2 separate regions of the Homo sapiens genome follow, and region 2 is linked to region 1. Evidence: promoter capture Hi-C in human tissues and cell types (Jung and others, 2019). All regions are on one chromosome and are shown on one strand. Each heading gives the region's core, a stretch centred on a gene start or on the middle of the fragment in contact. The rest is flanking DNA. Distances are from core to core; before and after follow the strand shown.

Region 1 (3,390 bases), core at 202-2,701:
ATGAAAAGAAAACGAGGGTTCCTTCAGGAATGGTGAACAGCCTGGAGAATGAACGTGAGAAGGAGCTTTGTGTTTTGGAGTCTGGACTGGAACCAAAGCAGACAGCTTGCAAATGGAGGACAGGGAGATAAAGAAAGGGAAAGAGGGGCTGCTCCAATGGGGGGCGGCTGCGGCTTCCCCTCGTGCCTGGAAGGAGGGCAGACCCCTGGGAACTGCACCAGGAGTGAGACGCCCCCCCAGGCCCCTGCCTTCCTTTCTCCCTTCCTCAGAGGAGAGCCAAGCGTGTGTAATGGCTTCTCCTCTCCAGAAACCGTTGTCCTCCTCCACCAGACGCTTCTGAACCTCCAGCCTGGAGACAGCTCCTCAGCCGCTCCTGAACCTGCGCCCCCCACCCGGCCGGTGCCCCCCGCTCCTCGCCTCTCTGTTCACCAGCAGCACCGGCACCAGCAGCTGCAGCAGCCACCCCCCGACACATCCCGACCCCGCATCCCAACTTCGGGGAGAGGGAGAGAGAGAGAGAGAGAGAGAGAGAGAGAGAGAGAGAGAGAGAGAGAGAGAGAGAGAGAGAGAGAGAGAGCCAAATACCTGAGGAAGAGGGGGGCTGCCAATCCGCACGGCTTTGCCATCGGGCGGGGGACAGGCAGACAGAAGGGGGAAAGGAAGGAGAGGGACAGAGAAAGAAAGAGGTCAACCCGCTCAGGTCGGGGCCGCTCGCACGGAGCTCTCCCTCCTCTGACCCTCGCTCGCTCCCTCTGGCTCTCGGCTCAGGTCTCCGGCCTCCCGCCCTCCGCCCCCCTCTGTCCCTACTCCTGTCCCCACACTCGGAGCATCCGTCCTAAGCCTCCAGCTCTCTTCTCACTCATCTTTCATTTTCTCTTCTCTTCATAGAACTACACGAAATTAATTAAGCCACCGCGCTCACTCCCCCCAGCAGGAGCAGCAGCCAGCAGGAAAAGCACAGCCACCTCCACTGCCACCACTACCACCTTCTCCTCCTCTTCCTCCTCCTCCTCTTCCTCCCTCGCTTCTCCTCCTCCTCTTCCTCCTCCCCCTCCTGCTCTCCCTCCTCCCCCTCCTCCTCTTCTCTCTCGCTTCTTCTCCTCTTCCAACAGCCAGTCCATGCAGGGGACTTCCTCTCCTCCCCGCTCCTCCAACCCTCCTTGGCCGAATGAATGAGCGCGTTTGTGCCTCCACCACCCCGCGCTCTCTTCCCCGGAGCACTCGGACCACCCCGAGGTGGTTGTTAATTGCAGTAACTTACAGAAGAAGCGTCCCGGCGCCGGGAGGTGCTTCGGGTTCTCCAGCCCCACCGCCTCCTTATCCTCTTTCTCTTTCTCCTCTTCCTGCTCGGGTTATTGTTGTGGAAGTTGTTTGGGAGTCTCATGTGCTTCTGCCGGGTCTCAGCAATGGAGGATCGCCATCTTCCCTGCCTTCCTCGGCTCCTCAGACTCGCTGCAGCTGCAGATGACCTGAGATATCCGTCTCTCTCCCTCTCTCTCTCTCTCCCTCCCTCCCTCTCCCTCTCACTCTCTCTCTCCCCTCTCTCTCCTCTTCTCTCTCCTCTCCTCCCTCTCCCTCGCGCGCTCTCTCTCTCTCCCTCCCTCTGTGTCTCTCTCTGAATAATGAGCAACCAGGGGGAGAGAGAAAGCAAGACAGAAAGAGAGAAGGAAGACAATCTTCTCCTGCCACACAAAACGCCGGAGCACCAGGGGGTGCGCGAAGCCTTTCTAATAACAACAACAACGTGCAGCAGAGAGGAAGGAAAAAAAGAAAGAAAGAAAGAAATGAGGAAAAAGGCTAGGGGAAAAAAGAGGAAGAATTATCCAAGAGCTCGAGAAGAGCAGAAGGAGAAGCTGGAGGAGATGCTGAGGCTGCTGCTGCTGTTCCCCCTCCCCCCTGCTGAACCCCAGAAGGAGGCAAGGTGGTTGCAAAGTTAAGGCTGGGACATTGTCTTTGTCACTCAGAGCCAGGCCAGTGAGATGCAAGAGGAGGAGGTGGCGGCGGCAGAGGAGGAGGAGGTGGTGGTGGAGGAGGGGGAGGAAGAGGAGGAGAAGGAGGCAAAGGAGAAGGAGGCAAAGGAGAAGGAGAAGGGGAAGAGGGAGATGAGATGATGAATAAAGACCTGCGGAGAAGGCGGTGCGAGGAGCGCGGCCGCCGGGCCGAGGCGTGCGCGCTCGCGTCCCGGTGGCGCCCGGCAGCCCTGGCCCGCAGAGGAAGCCCCCGGTGAGGACCCTGCCCGGCAGCTCATAGCGCTCCCAACGTCAGCCCTGCCCGAGGCGCCGAGCCCGAGCCCCAGAGGGTCCCTTACTTGCATCCATCTAGAGGCCAACCTTTGCAAAGAACATACGTGGGGAACTGGAGGTTGCAAGTATAAACCCAGATCAACCACGTGGGGCTTTTTAATCCCTTTCCAGCTTGCGGTGTGAGTATTTCCAGTGAAAAGCTCAAATTGTCCATTACTGGCACGTATTTTGAAGTCTTCTCTCCTGAAATAAAGGCTCATTGTGCGTTTTATTTCTTTCCTGATATGGAAGGTGGGGGGGTGGAGGAGGAAAAGAGCCCATCATTCCGAGCTTCGGAACCACCACTTTCTTTTCCTAACTTGTGAAATGTTTTGACTGCGCACCAAAAGAAAAAAAGAACGCCTGCTTAAATAACTTTACACCCTCCAGCCCCGCGTTGTTTGCACTTTCTGGCTGATCATCTAAAGGCTCGGAAAGTAACAATCAGCGCTCTTAATGATAAGGTGTCATGGTGTTGAAGACACGCGAGCCAAGATGAAGCTTTCACACCTTGAATTTTTATTTAGTGTAATCTCTCCCGTATCATTCTGAACTATCTCTTTTGCAAAGGAGTGGTTCCCCCCCTCCACCACCAGGTCGAAAGTCTCCTACGGTTTTAATTGGACTGGGAGCGGTGGGGGTTGGGGATGGGGGTTCTACAGTATCAAAAAAATCAATGCAGCAAGTCAGGAGCAATTGAAGTTCAAGGGCATGGGCTGATTGTACCATTTCTATTTCTTGGATCTTGGAGTTGGACATCAACAGCCTCAGGAGAGAGAAACGCGCAGCGCGCGGGGCAGAAAGAGACCTTAATTAAAGTTTCTTTTGTCCGCGTCTGAATTGGGGATGTTGCTGGATTCCTTTGCATTGAGGAGCGCGCATCCGGTGAAGGCGCGGTGTTAAGGATCCTGGGCAAGTCTGTCCTCTTTAAATACTCGCCCTTTCTCCTCCCTCCCCCCAAGCAACAGTCCGAGAAGATATATACCTATAAATCCATACAATAAAGGAAGAGGAGGAGACGCGCGCGGAGTTGGTTCCCATCCGATAGCGGGGCTTCATAAACAGATCTAAATCCTCATTTTCCAAGATTTTCCCGACCCTATATTCC
Region 2 (3,706 bases), core at 587-3,086, 75 kb before region 1:
TCCCAACTCATGCCTCCTTAGCATCCTTTAGCTGTAAGAAATCCCTATGTCACCCCTAAGGTATCACGTGGCTCAGTCAGACACACTTCCCCACTCATTCACCCTTTGCACTCCTACTCTGAATTTTGTGTCATTAATGTACATACCTGTCTCCCCAAACATTTCGCAGCACATATTTTTAGAACAAGACAGGATATAAATAAAAACAAACAAATTGGCCTGGTACTGTATTCGCTTTCTTGCTTGAAACCACAGTGGAACGATCCAAAACTAATCCATCCCACTTGACAGGCTCTTTCCACTAGCAACACTCCCATGAGCACTGAATTCCATTTTCATCATGGCGTCACACAGATGCTCAACAAGTTCATTTCCCCTTCCCACTCCAACTTCCACACCATTTCAACTTTTTCATATTTCTTCCTTCACTTGAACCATCATGTTTTCACATAAGATTTTCCTCTAAAAAAAATGATTGGCAATGAATCCCAGCCCACCTCAACCCTGAGTGGTTAATTCCAGCTTGGAAGCCCATTTTTACCATTGGAGTCTTCCACTTCTTCAGCCGGGGTAGCTTTTTGGGAGGAGTGGTGGGAGTGTGAGGAGAGGAGACTGACGATCCGTGGCCTGGGGAGGGTCAGGGCTTTTCCGTGGACCTTGAGGGAGTGTTCCTTCAGCTGGCTGATTGTCATGGTGGAGAATGAGCACCAAGAACACTTGTAGGCATGCTCACCTGGAAGAGGATGGTGACAAGAAATAGAACAGGAAAAAGAGGGGAGAAGGGTATAAGGCCAGGGTGGAAACAAGATAACTCAGTTAACTCATGCTAGAGAAGCGCATCTCAAGCTTCATGTTCTATGAACGAACCTCACAGACCAACAACCTGCCACAACCACAGTACTCCTTTGGAGTTGAAACTCTTCCATGAGCTCCAGAATCTAGTGAACTGGTCCTTTTTCATTTTGGGCTCTGCTTACAGGAGTGAAGCTATGAATTAATTCCCCAATAGGAAGTCAAACCCAACTGCCCATGATACCTCCTTTAGAAAAATTTCCAATCCCTTTCCCTCCCTCTCTACACTAGAAATGACCATGTCAGGTTTCATTCAAGGTGGCCTTTTTGTCAGTCCCAGAAAATAACATGCTTAATTATTATTCCAAAGATCTATTAGTGGCTTTTTAATCACAAAGTCATTCAGTGCAAGCTCTGTTGTGCTATTCTATTCTGTACTTCCTTGCTAACTATACACATTCTCATCCCACATATATATATTTTTGGACCAGTTCATAAACCTCAGCATAGAACTCCATTTCCTTATCTAGTCAATAGCACAGAAATGGGTAAAAATAAGTCATTTCTCTAAGGAAGAGAGCTGTATATGTAAACATGGGGGTTTAGGGGGTACAGTGTGTGTGTTTATCTCCAATATTCTTCAATAAAGACTGCCTCTCAGTAAAAATAAGCACTACTTTTAAAATTAATTTTATGCCACTGAAATACAACACAGATCACCATGACCAAATTAAGTTAAAGTGTGATTTACCTTCGCCATATATTACCTGTTAAATTAATTACATTTTAAGAACTAAGAGTGTGAAGTGGGCAGGCTTAAATTGTTGGACATATATACACTGGTAAGATCAATTCAGAAAGCCATTTTGCTTTTAAGAACAATAGACTTAGAAATGCTCATGTTTCCAACCCAGTAACTCCATTTCAAAGAGTAATAAGAAGATATCCTTTAATAAATATAAAGTTTTACTTAGAAATATACATCATTTATGCTTGAAAAAGGTATGAAATAACCTAAATTTACAACCATAAGGAAAAGATTAAGTAAATCTGGGCATATCCTATTGATGATTTATTTTATTCAATTAAAATAAATTCTTGGAGTTTATAATAACATAAAAATAAAAGTAAATACAAAGGCTAAATATATATATTCAATTGCATTAGAATTACAACTATTAAAAATAATTACAGAGAAAATGACTGAAAGGAAATATATGAAATGTTAACAACAGTGGCGTTTAGATAACAAGATTATGAATGACTGTATTTCTTCTTTCATTTCCAAACTTTCTCTAATGAACATGTATTTTTAAAATTAATTTTTAAGGTGACATTTAAAACTCAGAGAAGAAAAAAGAGAAAACAGAATCATAAAGTTTTGTGGACCAGTGAAAATGAACAGAGGTGTGGTCTAAGGATTAAAAGTAAGAAAAACAGGTATTGGAAGATCATTCTTTGTCCCTACATTTCCGAGATTATTATTTTCCTGCCACCATGAAAATTACTAAATGGGTTCACATGTGAAGTGAGTATAGCATCCAAGTTCTGTAATTAAGCCTTCCTCTCACCACGGATGAATATATATATGACAATATATAGAATACTACTGCCCTCTTTATTCTATTTTTTCATTTTTTTCTTTTAATGCAAGCTTGGTTGTGTGAATATTGCTGGTGGCTGTGAGTTGCACGACCTGAGAGAGAATTCAAATCCAGATGTTTGGGTTAGCACACATTACCTTTTCTTCTTTAAAATAAAATAAAATAATCTATCTAGAAAAGACAAGATGAGTCAAGAGTCTTTCAGAAAAGGTACTGGCTTTTTCCAAGCCAAGCCCCACTCAGTCACTCAAAGCAATGTCATGGAGGCCAAGGTTCCAAGGTATGTCAAGAACTGAATTACACTGCTCCCAATCTCTCTTACTGGATGCTCTCTTCCTGCCAGCCAGTGAGTACAGGGAGGCCAGTTTTTTGGGTCAGTTCCAAGAGCAGACACTTCAGCTTAATACGCTGGCATCAGTGTGCAGGCTCTGATGCTCTCTTCAAGTCTTTCCCACAGGCCGAATCATCTCTTCCCAGCTCTCGCTGGTAAAAGTGCTTTTGACAAGGCTAAGGCCTATGGGCAAAACTCACCAGGATAGTGTCCCAGCTGGATAATTTACAATATACACAAGTTAGAAAACAGTGATTTGAACCCTGAAGCCACTCACTTCAAGGACTTTAGTAGAAATTTCCCAGAGACAGAAAAATACAAAAAGATAGAGAAAAGCCCCTATAGCTAACTTCCCTGTCCCATTCCTTACTCCTAGTGGAGTTTGAGGCAACTGGGAGACCTGGGTAATCTTACTGCATTAAGTCAGTTCAACAAAATCCAACACTCAGAAGACAATGAAGAGACATGGTCCTGTTTACACAGAGCATGAGGAGCTGGCGAAAGTGAAGGACCCAGGTTCTGAGCAGTTCTTACAACACTGTTCAAACTGTGACCAAGGGTTATACAAGGCACAAGGAATGTGACACAATGCCTCCCCTTTAGGACGATTATAGGACTAAAGAAGATGATGCATATAACACGCCTAGTGCACAGCCTGGTGGGTAAGGGTCATGACACATCAGACGTCAACAACAGTGGTCTTCAGATAAGATTATAGATGACTGACTGTATTTCTTCTTTCATTTCCAATTTTTTCTAATGAGTAATGAGATGGAACAACAATATGATAGAGACCAGCACAGCTGCTGGACACTCACAACCCAAAGTCATTTCTGTCTTATGTACGGAAACATATCTAAGGGTATCTCTTGAAAAATCTCACACATCTTGAGTTCCCTTTGCCCTTTCTAACTTCCTTAAGTTGGTAACTTTATTTTAGCTGGAAAGTCTTTTTAATAGATATAACAATTCTTGGCAA

Evidence for each region. The method cuts DNA at HindIII sites, captures the fragments that hold promoters and counts their contacts. A contact is called where the count stands out against the background at its distance.
Region 2: a fragment that was not itself captured here is called in contact with the fragment with the promoter of ZNF462 in region 1 in 2 of the 25 tissues and cell types used here (dorsolateral prefrontal cortex and hippocampus).

What each region holds. Positions count from the first base shown.
Region 1 is chr9:106,861,227-106,864,616 of GRCh38, reverse strand. ZNF462 (zinc finger protein 462) reads right to left here and starts at 1,451. Exons shown (of 13, transcript NM_021224.6): 1 at 1,262-1,451. The HindIII fragment of the contact is 13,314 bases long and covers 1-3,390 here.
Region 2 is chr9:106,935,943-106,939,648 of GRCh38, reverse strand. ZNF462 (zinc finger protein 462) reads right to left here. Exons shown (of 13, transcript NM_021224.6): 7 at 542-733. Among named protein-coding and RNA genes, the nearest start is that of ZNF462, 75 kb to the right of the region's middle. The HindIII fragment of the contact is 3,261 bases long and covers 206-3,466 here.